Linked DNA regions of Homo sapiens: regions 1 and 3 are each linked to region 2. Evidence: promoter capture Hi-C in 16 types of primary human blood cells and fetal thymus (Javierre and others, 2016). All regions are on one chromosome and are shown on one strand. The core of a region is centred on a gene start or on the middle of the fragment in contact, and the rest is flanking DNA. Distances in the headings are between cores, read along the strand shown. Region 1 overlaps SDF4 (stromal cell derived factor 4). Region 2 holds the start of WRAP73 (WD repeat containing, antisense to TP73). Region 3 overlaps PHF13 (PHD finger protein 13).

Region 1 (4,082 bases), core at 507-3,006, 2.4 Mb before region 2:
CACACTCCCGGCTTCCCTGAGCTCCCACTGGGAGAGCCAGGACACAGCCTGGGCCCCCACACGCCACAGAGCAGGACCCCCACCAGCCGTCCTAACACACCCCATTCTCTGCCCCATCTGGGGCTAGGCCTGCCCCACTGCACCCAAAGACCTTGCCATCCTCCACCCAAAACCCCCAGGCGGCTCTGTCTCCTGCCTTAAATGTCCAAACCCCAAACTCAGTGGGCACGTCTGCTGCCCCCTGACCCCTACTCACAAACGCAGCGCTGCCCTCCGTCCTCCCAGAGCCCCTGCCCGTTGCCACCTGCCAGGAGAATCACCTCGAACCGGCCATGACCTCCAACCCTCCACGTGACCCAGCACCAGCCTCCAGCGCTCCAGTGGAAACTGTAACCACAAACCTAGCACGCTGCTGTTGTGTTTTGTTTCACGCCCAAAGAATGAAGCTGACCAAAAAAGGCAACTATATTTAAAGTAAATGTATGTGATTCTTGTCACAACAAATATTTGCATTTTCTCAGCGGCAGCTGCGGGACCTGGGTGGCTCCGACACGCCAGGCCCGGGAAGGACCCGGCACCCTCCCCTGAACTTCCTGGCTACTCATTTCCAGCGAAGTTTAATCTATTTTTAATAATCGTTCAGTTTTCAAGGAAATGGAGGAGCTGTTTTTTCCCACGGAGCGGCGGCCCTGGGAGGGGCCGGGCCCAGAGGTTCCGGCCGCGATGCCGTCAGCGCCTTCGGCAGAGTGACTGAAGCGAGATTTCGTTCTCAGAAGTGAGATGCCACGATTTCGAGGGACCAGGGAGGAGGCGGCGCCGCGGGGCCACAGCCCAGCCCCGCGCCCCGACCGCGTCACAGCCAAAGCCCCGCCGGGGTGCGCGCTGCAGAGGGGACACGCCGCTCATCAACTGGGGCAGCCGCGGTCGGTCGGCCGGTGGCGGGCGGCAGGGAAGAGGTGGGGTCCGGGACAGCCACGGAGCCCGGAGTCACCCGCGAGGCCGCCCCGGTGGTGCGTGGGGGGCGGCGCGGGGCGCGGCCGGGCGCTCAAAACTCCTCGTGCACGCTGCGCGCGTAGTCCACCAGCTTGCTGCCCGTGAAGAACTCGCTGTACTTGAGCACCTCCTCGGGCTCCAGGTGGTGGTTCTGGTTCTCGTCGGCGACGGCGATCATCTGCTTGGCCTCGTTCAGCGCGTTGTACTCGTTCATGGGGTCCATGTAGCTCTGCGGGCGAGCGGGGCACAGGTCAGCGTCGCCTTTCCCCCTCCGAGCTCCGCGGCCAGCCGCACGAAGTGGCTATTTAAGGTGCCTATTGGCTGCAGCGGGAGTGTGGGCACGTTCTGGAAGGTTCCCGAAGGGAGGCGGCACAAATGAAAACACAGGGCAGGGAGAAGCCGGGGGCCCCGGAAGGCCTGCCCGGGGCCAGCAGGGGTAACGGGGCACAGGGGCTACACAGGCCTGGACCCCAGTTCTGAAGGATCCCTAACCTGGGCCGGGCCCACTGGCTGTCGCCAGGAATCACAGGATTCTACATAAAAACAAGATGACTCACTCAGCAGTGGGAGAAAAACAAGCCTACACATGATACCAGTGAAAACGCTTCAGAGGAAGGTGGTAAATTCCAGCCATGTGGCACAGGCCGCCCCGCCCACCTGCACCTGCTGGGCCTTGGACCTGCCTCCATGCTGGGCCCAGCATGAGCTTCCCCTTGTGGTCCCGTTAAAAAGGGGCTGTGAGAACCCTGACGCCTCCGCAAGGGGCTGAGGATGGAGCCCGGCCAGGCTCGCCTGTCTCTGATCCGTCTGAACCTAAACGCCAACAACGGCCATGCAGCCTGGTGGACACCGCTGAGCAAACGCCCCAGTGACCAGCCCAGATGGAGTCTCAGGCCAGACACCAGCACAGCTTCCTGCCTCAGGCCCAGATCCACCAGCCCCTCCCGCCACAGCACCTCGCAGGGCCGGCTCCGGGACACGGCTGCGCCAGGGCTCACCTCCAGCTCCTCGGCGGTCACGATGCCGTCGTGGTTGGAGTCAATGAGCTCCTCAAACTCCTTTTTTCTGTCTTTCACCCAGTTGTCGTCAATGTCCTGGCCCTGCTGGTTCTCCACGGTGCCCACGGGCAGGGAGATGAACTCGGGCACAGAGAGCTGCTTGTCACCGTCCTGGTCTGCGAGACGGGAATGGGTCAGCCCACACCCAGGCTGGGGCTCCCGCAGGACCTGCCCCGACCTCCCGACGATGCCCGGCCCCTGCCAGTCGGTCCTGGGTCCTGGCGTGCCGGCCAGGCTGGACCCAGCCTCACCCAGGTCCCGGACGATCTCCTTCACCATGAACCTGAGCATTCCCCGGCTGTGCTCGGGGTGGAGGAACGACAGGAACTCCTCCTCCGTCAGCAGCAGGTCTGCAGGGGGGCTGTCCGCCTGGTACCAGCGGTCCTTCAGGTTCTCCAGGACTTCCTGTGCTGAGAGGGGCGCAGCCTGTGGGTATCGAGGCCGACAGACGCCAGCACGCAAATCCAGAAAGTTCCGAGAGGTGCTGCCTGAACTCGAGGGACACAGCCACCCGCGAGACCGGGGCCCCACCCTCCAGGATTCACACGTCCCCAGAACATGGCCCAGCCCCTAAGACACAGCCTGGACCCCCGCCAAGACATAACCCAGAGCCTCCCACAGGCCTGATCCCCAAAGGCATAGCTTGGACCCCTCCACACAGCCCGGACTCCCCAAGACAGCCTGGACCCCCCCCTGCCCCAGACCCCCAATACATGGATGGCCCTGACTCCCCACAGACACAGCCCAGACCCCCAGGACATGGCCTGGACCCCCCACACAGCCCAGACCTCTCAAGACATGATCCAGAACCTCCCCATGGCCCAGACCACCCCAGGACACAGCTCAGAGCCCCTCATGCCTGGGACCCCTCAGGATGGGCCTGGGCCCCACCCCCCACACCCGCGCCTGCCCCTCTGGAGGAGCGGAATCACCCTGAAGGCTGACGTGCGCACGGCGCCGCGGGGCGAAGGACTCACTGCCCTTTTCCGTTTCCTTCACGTGTGACGTCACAGGGAGGAAAACACAGTTTCTAGAAATGACTGAGACTGGGGCTGAGCAGAGCTTCCCAGGAACCCTCCCAGCCGGGACACGGCACTGCCTCTGGGTGTGTGGCCCCCGCTCTCCTGCCGTGCCCACCCGGCCCCAACGGGCCCTCACCCCGAGGTCCCCACACATCCCAAGGACCCAAGCCACCCTGGGTCTCCAGGACAGAAACACCACCTCCTGCCCCATCTTGGGGCTCACTGCAGTCAGTGGCCAAGTCCAGTGTTGAGGCCCACACTCAGCCCCCTGCACGTGAGGCCCGACTCTGCCCTGGCCGAAGCCCCTGCCACAAGCCCGGCAGCCTCTGCGTCGCGCTCACTGCGGGATGAGGCCCAGCTGCCGTCCCATCTTATCCCTTTCTGAACAACCTCCATCTACACGACCGGTTCACTTAAAGGAAGACAGGAGTGACGGGGCTGTGGTTCCTGGGGCACCCCTCCCTGTCTGCTCCACCGCAGCTCCTGGGATGGATGGACGGGGCCAAACTGAGACCCATCCAGGAGAGGCACAGACGCCCCAGACAGGCCGGCCGAGAGACGCTTTCTCCAGCACAGGATTCTCACAGCCGCCGCCGAGCCCCAGCACCAACCTCAGGCTGGTGAAGAAGCCTTGAGTCCCAGTCCCTCCCCACGAGCCGGGCCTCTGCTGTTAGGGAAGGATCTGGAGAGACCCTCCTGGATCAGGGAGAGTCAACGACTGCTGTCCCTGTGAGAAGAGGACGCAGACCCAGAGAGAGGCAGCGATGGAGGCGGGGGAAGGGAGTGATGCCCGCCTGCCACGCCTTCACCGCGGTCCCCAGAATCAGGTCTGAGGCGCGAGGACAGCAGCCCCCGGACTCACGCGGTGACCCTCGCAGGAGCCATGCAGGGAGGGGTGGGAGGTCGCAGGAGTGACGCCTGCCAGCGCTTCCCAGGCCCCTCCTCCAGGACCCGGCAGCTGCTCTTCCTGAGCCAGAAACCAAATACCCAAAGAGGTCGGGGGGTCCTA
Region 2 (4,293 bases), core at 404-2,903:
CAGATTGGAACAAGGAGCTACCACAGCACTTACTTTCTCACACTGTAGCTTTGAAAACTGTGATCAGTTACAGTGAATTCCTTATGAAATGGAATATTTTTACCAACACCTTGAGGAACCACATAAACTCTACTGCAAGATATGAAAACTAGAAACATGGACCTGCTCTCCCCAGTCCTCAGGGCTTTCAAGAAGATGATTCCAGTAACAGATCATTACCAAGTGTTTCAGGGTATTTTGACCAGAGTGTACAAGCTGGAAAAAAACACCCAAGTTAAGCAAGCAGATGTAATCTTTCTCCTTATAATTCACTGAAATTTTCATAAATGGTAAAAACAAAAAACAAACCTCTCATTTAATTGAGGAGGGGGGCACATTGAAAATATACCAAGGCTGAGATGCCATTTAAACTAATGAGGTTTTCTGTTTTGTAGCTGATGCTATTTTATGTGATTTGGAATAAAACCTCCCTGAAGAGGTAAAAAACGTAATTTGAGAGTTAAACTCTCAAAAGCTAGACAGAGCACAGGAATGTCAGGAGTGGCAAAACCTGAAAAAGCATCATGATACATCAGTCAGTTAGTACAGGTGGTGGATAAGGAAAACGAAGCCCACTTTTTACGAGGCATGTTTCTTCTTAGTGGCTTTCCAATGCCAATTGTCCCCCTCTTCTGAGGACATACATACTAGGCATCCGGGTTATCCCTCTCTTCTGAGGATATACACTACTAGGCATCCAGGTACATACACTATATGTTTTGAAGCTTAAAGTTATAGCTCTGTGATTTAAGCACCCTTCTGCCACCCATGGAACGAAGACCTCAAATCCCAGCCATGAGGACAACTACTTCCTTACCTGGGGATAGAATACTAGTATTTAAATCATTTATTCGGCATGTGGTAGAGGAGAAGAGAATTAGAGGAGAAGTAGAGATGACAAAGTAGCCACACCACTTACCAGTTTACAGGCAACAGAATCATCAATTTGCCTTTTGTGACAAAGTAACAACAAAGAGCCGACATCTCCTATACCCTCACCTGTGTGCAGTCGGCACTGCCGATACCCACCTTTCCAAGGGCACCTCCCCAGACCCCCCACCTGTCTACGGTATCTTCCTGGGTCCCGCACCTGCCCGGGCACCTGCCGGGGTCCTGCACCTGTCCGGCCCCCATATCTGCTTGGGGTACCTGCCTGGGCCCCGCACCTGCTTGGGGTACCTGCCTGGGCCCCGCACCTGCTTGGGGCACCTCCCCGGGCCCTCCACCTGTCTAGGGTATCTTCCTGGGTCCCGCACCTGTCTGGGGCACTTGCTCAGACACTGCACCTGCCCCGGGTACCTGCCCGGGCCCCGCACCTGTCCGGGCACCGCACCTGCAGGATCCCCAAGCTGCCTCCACCCACGCGGCCGCCCCCGGCCCTGCCCGCCGGGGACGCTGGCACCGAGGATGTCCTGCCCGTGGCCCAGGTCCCCGCCGCTCACCAGGTACTTGCCGTCCGGGGAGAACTTGCAGAGTAAGCTGGAGAGCTTGAATACCTCGGAGAAGTTCATGGCCGCCGCCTGCCGCGGGCGCCACCCTGCGCCCGAAAACCCGCGGGACCCCTGGGCGCGCAGCAGGCTGCAACAGCCGACGCCGGCCTCCGAGGCCGGAAGTCAGAAGGCGGAAGTGAACTGCAGCCTATCAGCGCCGCCGGCTTCCGCGCGGCATTGTGGGGCTTGTAGTTCTTGTGCCGCAGGGCTTTAAAGGAAACGCCCACGTTTCTTCCGACCAGGGATTTCCGACCCGAGAACCTTACCTCAAAGGCCGGGAGGCCTTTGAGCACCTCCAGCTAGGGCTGCTGATAAAAATGTAGAAAGCACAGTAAAATTTGAATTTCAGATTCACAACAAATCTAGTTATAAGTATGTTCCCAAATATTGCACGGGACATGCTAATACGGAAAAATTACTCGCTAGTCTGAAATTCAAATTTAATTGAGCGACCTGTGTGTCTGCGTGTGTGTACACATGCATATATATATATTTATATTTATATGTAAATGTATGTTTACATGTAAATATATGTTTACCTACAAATATATCTTTAATAAGTAATACGGTGTCTGTCGCACATATATTATATCGTGTATGTAATGTATAAGTATTTATTTCGTTTGCTTGGGGTTTTGTTTGCTTTTGCTGAGTCCGACCCCTCTACCTGCCGCCTGGCCCTTGCCTCACGCTCCAGTGCCACTGAGATCAAGGAGAGAACGAATTTGCCGCTGACTGGGCAGAGCGAGCGCGTGGATCGCGGCCACCGCCCGTTCATCACCCGCGCGCATCTGGGCTGGCACCGGGCGAAGAATCGTGCGGGTCTGGGACCTGGGGGCCCAGAGGGAGCGAGCTCCTGCGCGGGCGCTCGGTCCGCAGGTTTCGCAGGCTCAGGGGCGTGCCTCGTTCTCACCCCCACTCCGGACCCCGGTCCTCTTCCCTAGACAGCGGCCCCCTCCACCCCTGGCTCCCGCAGGCCGCTAGTAGTCCGCGCCAGGCCCCGCCGGCGCCTCTAGGGCCCCCCAGATCGCGCAGACCCTGACATCCCCGCCTGGCCCTGGGTTCTGGGAGCTGAGAGCCGGCCAGGGTCCTGCTCGTACCTCCGGGCGCCCAGCCTCGGGTCTGCTCCCCGCGGACGCCCCAACCTCCCCGGCCGAATGGATGGTGGTGCGCGCGCGTCCTACTCCGGCGGTGCCGGCCTTTTCTGTTGCCAAAACTAGACCCAAACCTCTGCATGGGATTCGTCTTTGGGTCCCCACCCCGTGCGCCCAGCAAACAGTGGGTGAGCCATGAAGATGTGCGAGTCAGCCGGACCCTCCCCGTCAGGCGCGGACCCGCTGCGGCCAGAGAACCCAGTCTGCGCCAGCCCGGCTCGCTCGCGAAGCCACGGGCTTCACTGACGCGACTTTCCAAGACGTGGGGGTCACCATGGGCAGAGGACATCGGTTCGGAGCCAGATCACGGGCCCCATAAGCATCAGACCATAAGCAGCGCCGCCACTGAGAGCCGCTCGGAACTCGCCCAGCATGTCGGGTCCCCTAGCCAGGGCCTGGTGTACGTGGTCGAGGGCCCTGGAAGCCCCGATGGCCTAGGAGGAGCAGGCGGGCGGGGCGGCGGGTGTCGCTGGCCGGTAGAGAGCTTCGGCCTGACCTAGCGCAGGTCTGGTGCGCGCAGAGAACAACTCCAAGCGCACCGACGCCCGCGAGCTCCTTCCAAACACCGAACGGGATCCAGAGCCCGAGCCCACAGGCGGCGGCCGGGGGAGGGAGCAGGGTGCTGGCCGCCGCCCGGGAGTGTTCGCGTCCTGGGTGACCCCTGGAAGGACGTGGGGCCCAAACTCCGGCTGGGGTTGGGAGAGCAGCCCCCAGAGGCTCTCCGCGGGATCCTCTGCCGGGCGGGACCGTGGCTCCACAGGAGAAGTGGGTGGCAAGCCCTGCTTGGCGGAAAGCAGCCGTTCCCCTCCTCCTGGGCCTGGGGCGGCGCCCCTCACCCCTGTTCCCCGCCCCTCACCCCTGTTCCCCGCCGGCCACATCCCCTGCCCCTTGGATTCCAAGCGCCCCGCGCGCCGAGGAGCCCAGCGCTAGTGGCGGCGGCCAGGAGAGACCCGGGTGTCAGGAAAGATGGGCCGTCTGGGGGACAGCAGGGAGTCCGGGGGAAACGCAGGCGTCGGGCACAGAGTCGGCACCGGCGTCCCCAGCTCTGCCGAAGATCGCGGTCGGGTCTGGCCCGCGGGAGGGGCCCTGGCGCCGGACCTGCTTCGGCCCTGCGTGGGCGGCCTCGCCGGGCTCTGCAGGAGCGACGCGCGCCAAAAGGCGGCGGGAAGGAGGCGGGGCAGAGCGCGCCCGGGACCCCGACTTGGACGCGGCCAGCTGGAGAGGCGGAGCGCCGGGAGGAGACCTTGGCCCCGCCGCGACTCGGTGGCCCGCGCTGCCTTCCCGCGCGCCGGGCTAAAAAGGCGCTAACGCCCGCGGCCGCCTACTCCCCGCGGCGCCTCCCCTCCCCGCGCCCATATAACCCGCCTAGGGGCCGGGCAGCCCGCCCTGCCTCCCCGCCCGCGCACCCGCCCGGAGGCTCGCGCGCCCGCGAAGGGGACGCAGCGAAACCGGGGCCCGCGCCAGGCCAGCCGGGACGGACGCCGATGCCCGGGGCTGCGACGGCTGCAGGTAGGAGGCCCAGGGCCGGGGGGCGGTTCGGCTCCGCGGGCGGGGGCTGGAGCGCAGCGCTGGGCAGGCACCTGGGCTCGCAGCTCCGAAGCTGGGAGGTG
Region 3 (3,911 bases), core at 336-2,835, 3.0 Mb after region 2:
CAGGCGTGAGCTACCGCCCAGCCGATTTAGTAAACTTTCAGTTTATTTACAAATAAAATATGTGATATTTGCTTGCTCTTTTTGTTTGTTTGTTTGAAATGGAGTCTGGCTCTGTCGCCCAGGCTGGAGTGCCGTGGTGCAATTGTGGCTCACTGCAACCTCTGCCTCCTGGGTTCAAGCGATTCTCCTGTCTCAGCCTCATGAGTAGCTGGGCGCGCCACCACACCCAGCTAGTTTTTTGTATTTTTACTAGAGACGGGGTTTCACCGTGTTGTCGAGGCTGGTCTCGAACTCCTGACCTCATGATCCACCCGCCTCGGCCTCCCAAAAGTGCTGGGATTACAAGCGTTGAGCCACTGCACCTGGCTGTCTGCTTGCTTTTAATAAGGGTCTGTAGTTACTGACTGTTGACCATAGCTGGACACTATTCTTGGCCTATGTAATGCTATGAGGTAGGTGCTATTTTTTATCTCCAGTTTATAAGCTGAGGAAACTAAGGCATAGAGAGGGAAAACTTTGTCTTAGGTCACCCACTGATTAGTGGTGGAGCTTGGGGTTCAACCAGATGGCTGGACTCAGTGCACACGCTGCCTCTGTCTCAGCTCCCTGGCTGCCCGAAATGCGTATGATTGTCTTCAGGGACTCATGGCTGCAACTTGATGTAGATGAAGGAGGTTTTTTCACTTGCTGAGAACAGGGCAGGACTGGAGGAGAGCGGCTGTGGTGCTCAGACTTCAGGCCTCTTTCGTATTCGATTAAGCTCAAAATTGAACAATCCAGCTTTTTTTTTTTTGCGACAGGTCTTGCTCTGTTGCCCAGGCTGGAGTGCAGTGGCACAGTCTTGGCTCACTGCAGCCTCTTTCTCCTGTGCTGAAGTGATCCTCCCACCTCAGCCTTCCAAGTAGCTGGGACTACAGGCCCACCACCACACCCACCTAATTTTTGTATTTTTAGTAGATACAAGGTTTCGCCATGTTGCCCAGGTTGGTGTCAAACTCCTGGCCTCAAGTGACCCACCTGCCTTGGCTTCCCAAAGTGCTAGGATTACAGGCGTGAGCCACTGCGTTTGGCCGTAATTTTATTTTTTGTAGAGACAAGGTCTCACTGTGTTGCTGAGGCTGGTCTCGAGGTAGTGATGCTCCTGCCTTGGTCTCCCAGAGTGCTGGGTTTACAGGCACGAGCCACTGTGCCCAGCTGCATTCAGTATATTTCTAGCAGGCAAACTGCCAGCATTGGTTTATTTCCATCTGCTACATAGGTGGCTAATGCCTGCTTTCTTTTCTTTCTTTTTTTCTTTTTTTGAGACGGAGTCTTGCTCTGTGGCTCAGGCTGGAGTGTGGTGGTGCGATCTCAGCTCACTGCAACTTCTGCCTCCTGGGTTCAAGCAATTCTCCCTGCTTCAGCCTCCCAAGTAGCTGGGATTACAGGTGTCAGCCATCATGCACAGCTAATTTTTTTGTATTTTTGGTAGAGAGGGGGTTTCACCATGTTGGCCAGGCTGGTGTCGAACTCCTGAGCTCAGGTGATCTACCCGCCTCAGCCTCCCAAAGTGCTGGGATTACAGGTGTGAGCCCCCGCACCCAGCCTAATGCCTGTTTTCTAGCAAGACAAGGAGGACGTTGCCACTGTTTGCAAATGATATGCTTGTGATCTGAATGAACCATAGAGTTTACTTCACTGCTTTGGGGCAGTAATTACCTACTTGGATTCTGCAATATTTTGGAATGTCTAGTTTTTTAAGAGTGTCAGGAAATTCTCAAAACTAATTTAAATTCACTTAAAACAATATATCTCTTGGGAGGGCAAATGGAAGGAGAGGTTTTACAATCAGGGAACAATGAGCAGATAGGAGTGGGTGTCCACAGCACTCCTTCCCACAGACACCTGTTGCACACTGATGAATTTTCTGTCTCTAAGATGGGGCTGAGGGTTCAGCAGGGAGTTTCTCTCTTCGTGGCATCACATTAAACTCATGGCACTGATGGCACTGGGTTTTTTTTTTTTTGAGACACAGAATCTCCCTCCCGTTACCAAGGCTGGAGTGCAGTGGCTCACTGCAACATTTGCCTCCCGGGTTCAAGCGATTCTCCTGCCTCAGCCTCCCAAGTAGCTGGGACTACAGGCACCACCACCACGCCCAGCTAATTTTTGTATTTTTAGTAGAGATGGGGTTTCACCATGTTGGCCAGGTTGGTCTTGAACTCCTGGTCTCAGGTGATCCGCCTGCCTTGGCGTCCCAGAGTGCTGGGATTACAGGTGTGAGCCACCACGCCCAGCCAGAACTCATGTTACTGTTGCTTCAAGTGTGATGCTGATGGGCAGAGAAGCTCAAAGTTGTGCAGATGTCTCTGGAGGTCTGACATGGCTGGGTGGCTGGGGATGCTCTGCTCTGGGCTGGATCTTGTCACCAGTAACTGGAATCTGCCACCTTTGTCTTTTTAGGAACTCCCTTTAAGGAGCAGCCCCAGCCCTGCTAACAGCACTGCTGGTACCATTGACAGCGACGGCTGGGACGCGGGTTTCTCAGACATCGCGTCCTCAGTGCCCTTGCCAGTCTCTGACCGCTGCTTTAGCCACCTGCAGCCTACTCTCTTGCAGCGAGCCAAGCCCAGTAACTTCCTGCTGGACAGAAAGAAAACGGACAAGCTGAAGAAGAAGAAGAAGAGGAAGCGCAGGGACAGTGATGCGCCTGGGAAAGAGGGGTACAGGGGGGGCTTGCTGAAGCTGGAAGCCGCTGACCCCTACGTGGAGACCCCCACGAGTCCCACCTTGCAGGATATCCCCCAGGCTCCCAGCGACCCCTGCTCGGGCTGGGACTCCGATACTCCCTCGAGTGGATCTTGTGCCACTGTGTCACCTGATCAGGTCAAAGAAATAAAAACTGAAGGCAAACGGACTATCGTCCGGCAGGGAAAGCAGGTGGTGTTCCGAGATGAGGACAGCACTGGCAATGATGAGGACATCATGGTGGACTCAGGTGAGTGGTCCCTGAAGGATGATGACCCTTGTTGGCTTGTGGTTAGAAGAGAGGTTATTTTATTAAGTGGTCATCTCTCTGGGGCACAGGGTCTGGTGCCTTCCGTAGAGTGTGACAGCCCCACTGTCCAAGGAGGAGAAAAGCTGCAGGAATGTGGATATCGAGATGTTTAGGAAGGGGTTGATTGCCACTAGAGACAGCTGAGATTCTAAGACCTTAGAACATAAAAAGGGTATAGTTCTAAGTAAGCATCCAGGTAAGCATCCAGGCCGGGCACGGTGGCTCCACCAGTAATCCCGGCACTTTGGGAGGCCAAGGCAGGTGGATTGCTTGAGCTCAGGAGTTGGAGACCAGCCTGGGCAGCATGGCAAAGCCCTGTCACTGCAAAAATACAAAAAAAGGCTGGGCGCAGTGGCTCATGCCTGTAATCCCAGCACTTTGGGAGGCCGAGGCAGGCAGATCACGAGGTCAGGAGTTCGAGACCAGCCTGACCAACATGGTGAAACCCCGACTCTACTAAAGATACAAAAAAAAAAAAGAAAAAATTAGCTGGGCGTGGTGGTGCGCGCCTGCAATTCCAGCTACTCAGGAGGCTGAGGTAGGAGAATTACTTAAACCCAGGAGGTGGAGGTTGCAGTGAGCCAAGATCGCGCCATTGCACTCCAGCCTGGGCGACAGCAAAACTCCGTCTCAAGAAAAAAAAAAAAAACAATAGTCGAGTGTGGTGGTGTGTGCCTGTAGTCCCAGCTATTTGGGAGGCTGAGGTGGGAGGATGGCTTGACTGCAGGAGTTTGAGGCTGCAGTGAGGTATGATTGCACCACTGCACTCCAGCCAGGGTGACAGAGTGAGACCCTGTCTTAGGGAAAAAAAAAAAAAAGTAAGCATCTCCTGGGTAATACCTGGTTCCCACACATTTTGGAGCCCCTCGTGCCT

Evidence for each region. The method cuts DNA at HindIII sites, captures the fragments that hold promoters and counts their contacts. A CHiCAGO score of 5 or more calls a contact.
Region 1: a fragment that was not itself captured here is called in contact with the fragment with the promoter of WRAP73 in region 2 in 1 of 17 cell types (neutrophils); the score reaches 7.1 in neutrophils.
Region 3: a contact is called between a fragment that was not itself captured here and the fragment with the promoter of WRAP73 in region 2, in 1 of 17 cell types (neutrophils). The highest score is 6.0, in neutrophils.

What each region holds. Positions count from the first base shown.
Region 1 is chr1:1,216,467-1,220,548 of GRCh38, forward strand. It overlaps SDF4 (stromal cell derived factor 4), which reads right to left. Exons shown (of 7, transcript NM_016176.6): 5 at 2,303-2,461; 6 at 1,992-2,167; 7 at 465-1,222. The coding sequence ends at 1,046. Among named protein-coding and RNA genes, the nearest start is that of TNFRSF4, 4.4 kb to the left of the region's middle. The HindIII fragment of the contact is 5,266 bases long and covers 1-4,082 here.
Region 2 is chr1:3,648,450-3,652,742 of GRCh38, forward strand. WRAP73 (WD repeat containing, antisense to TP73) reads right to left here and starts at 1,654. Exons shown (of 12, transcript NM_017818.4): 1 at 1,482-1,654. The coding sequence starts at 1,550. TP73 (tumor protein p73) reads left to right here and starts at 4,067. Exons shown (of 14, transcript NM_005427.4): 1 at 4,067-4,192. RefSeq lists an enhancer at 1,875-2,718 and a silencer at 3,678-4,293. The HindIII fragment of the contact is 11,564 bases long and covers 763-4,293 here.
Region 3 is chr1:6,617,361-6,621,271 of GRCh38, forward strand. PHF13 (PHD finger protein 13) reads left to right here. Exons shown (of 4, transcript NM_153812.3): 3 at 2,443-2,977. Among named protein-coding and RNA genes, the nearest start is that of THAP3, 5.6 kb to the right of the region's middle. The HindIII fragment of the contact is 6,226 bases long and covers 1-3,911 here.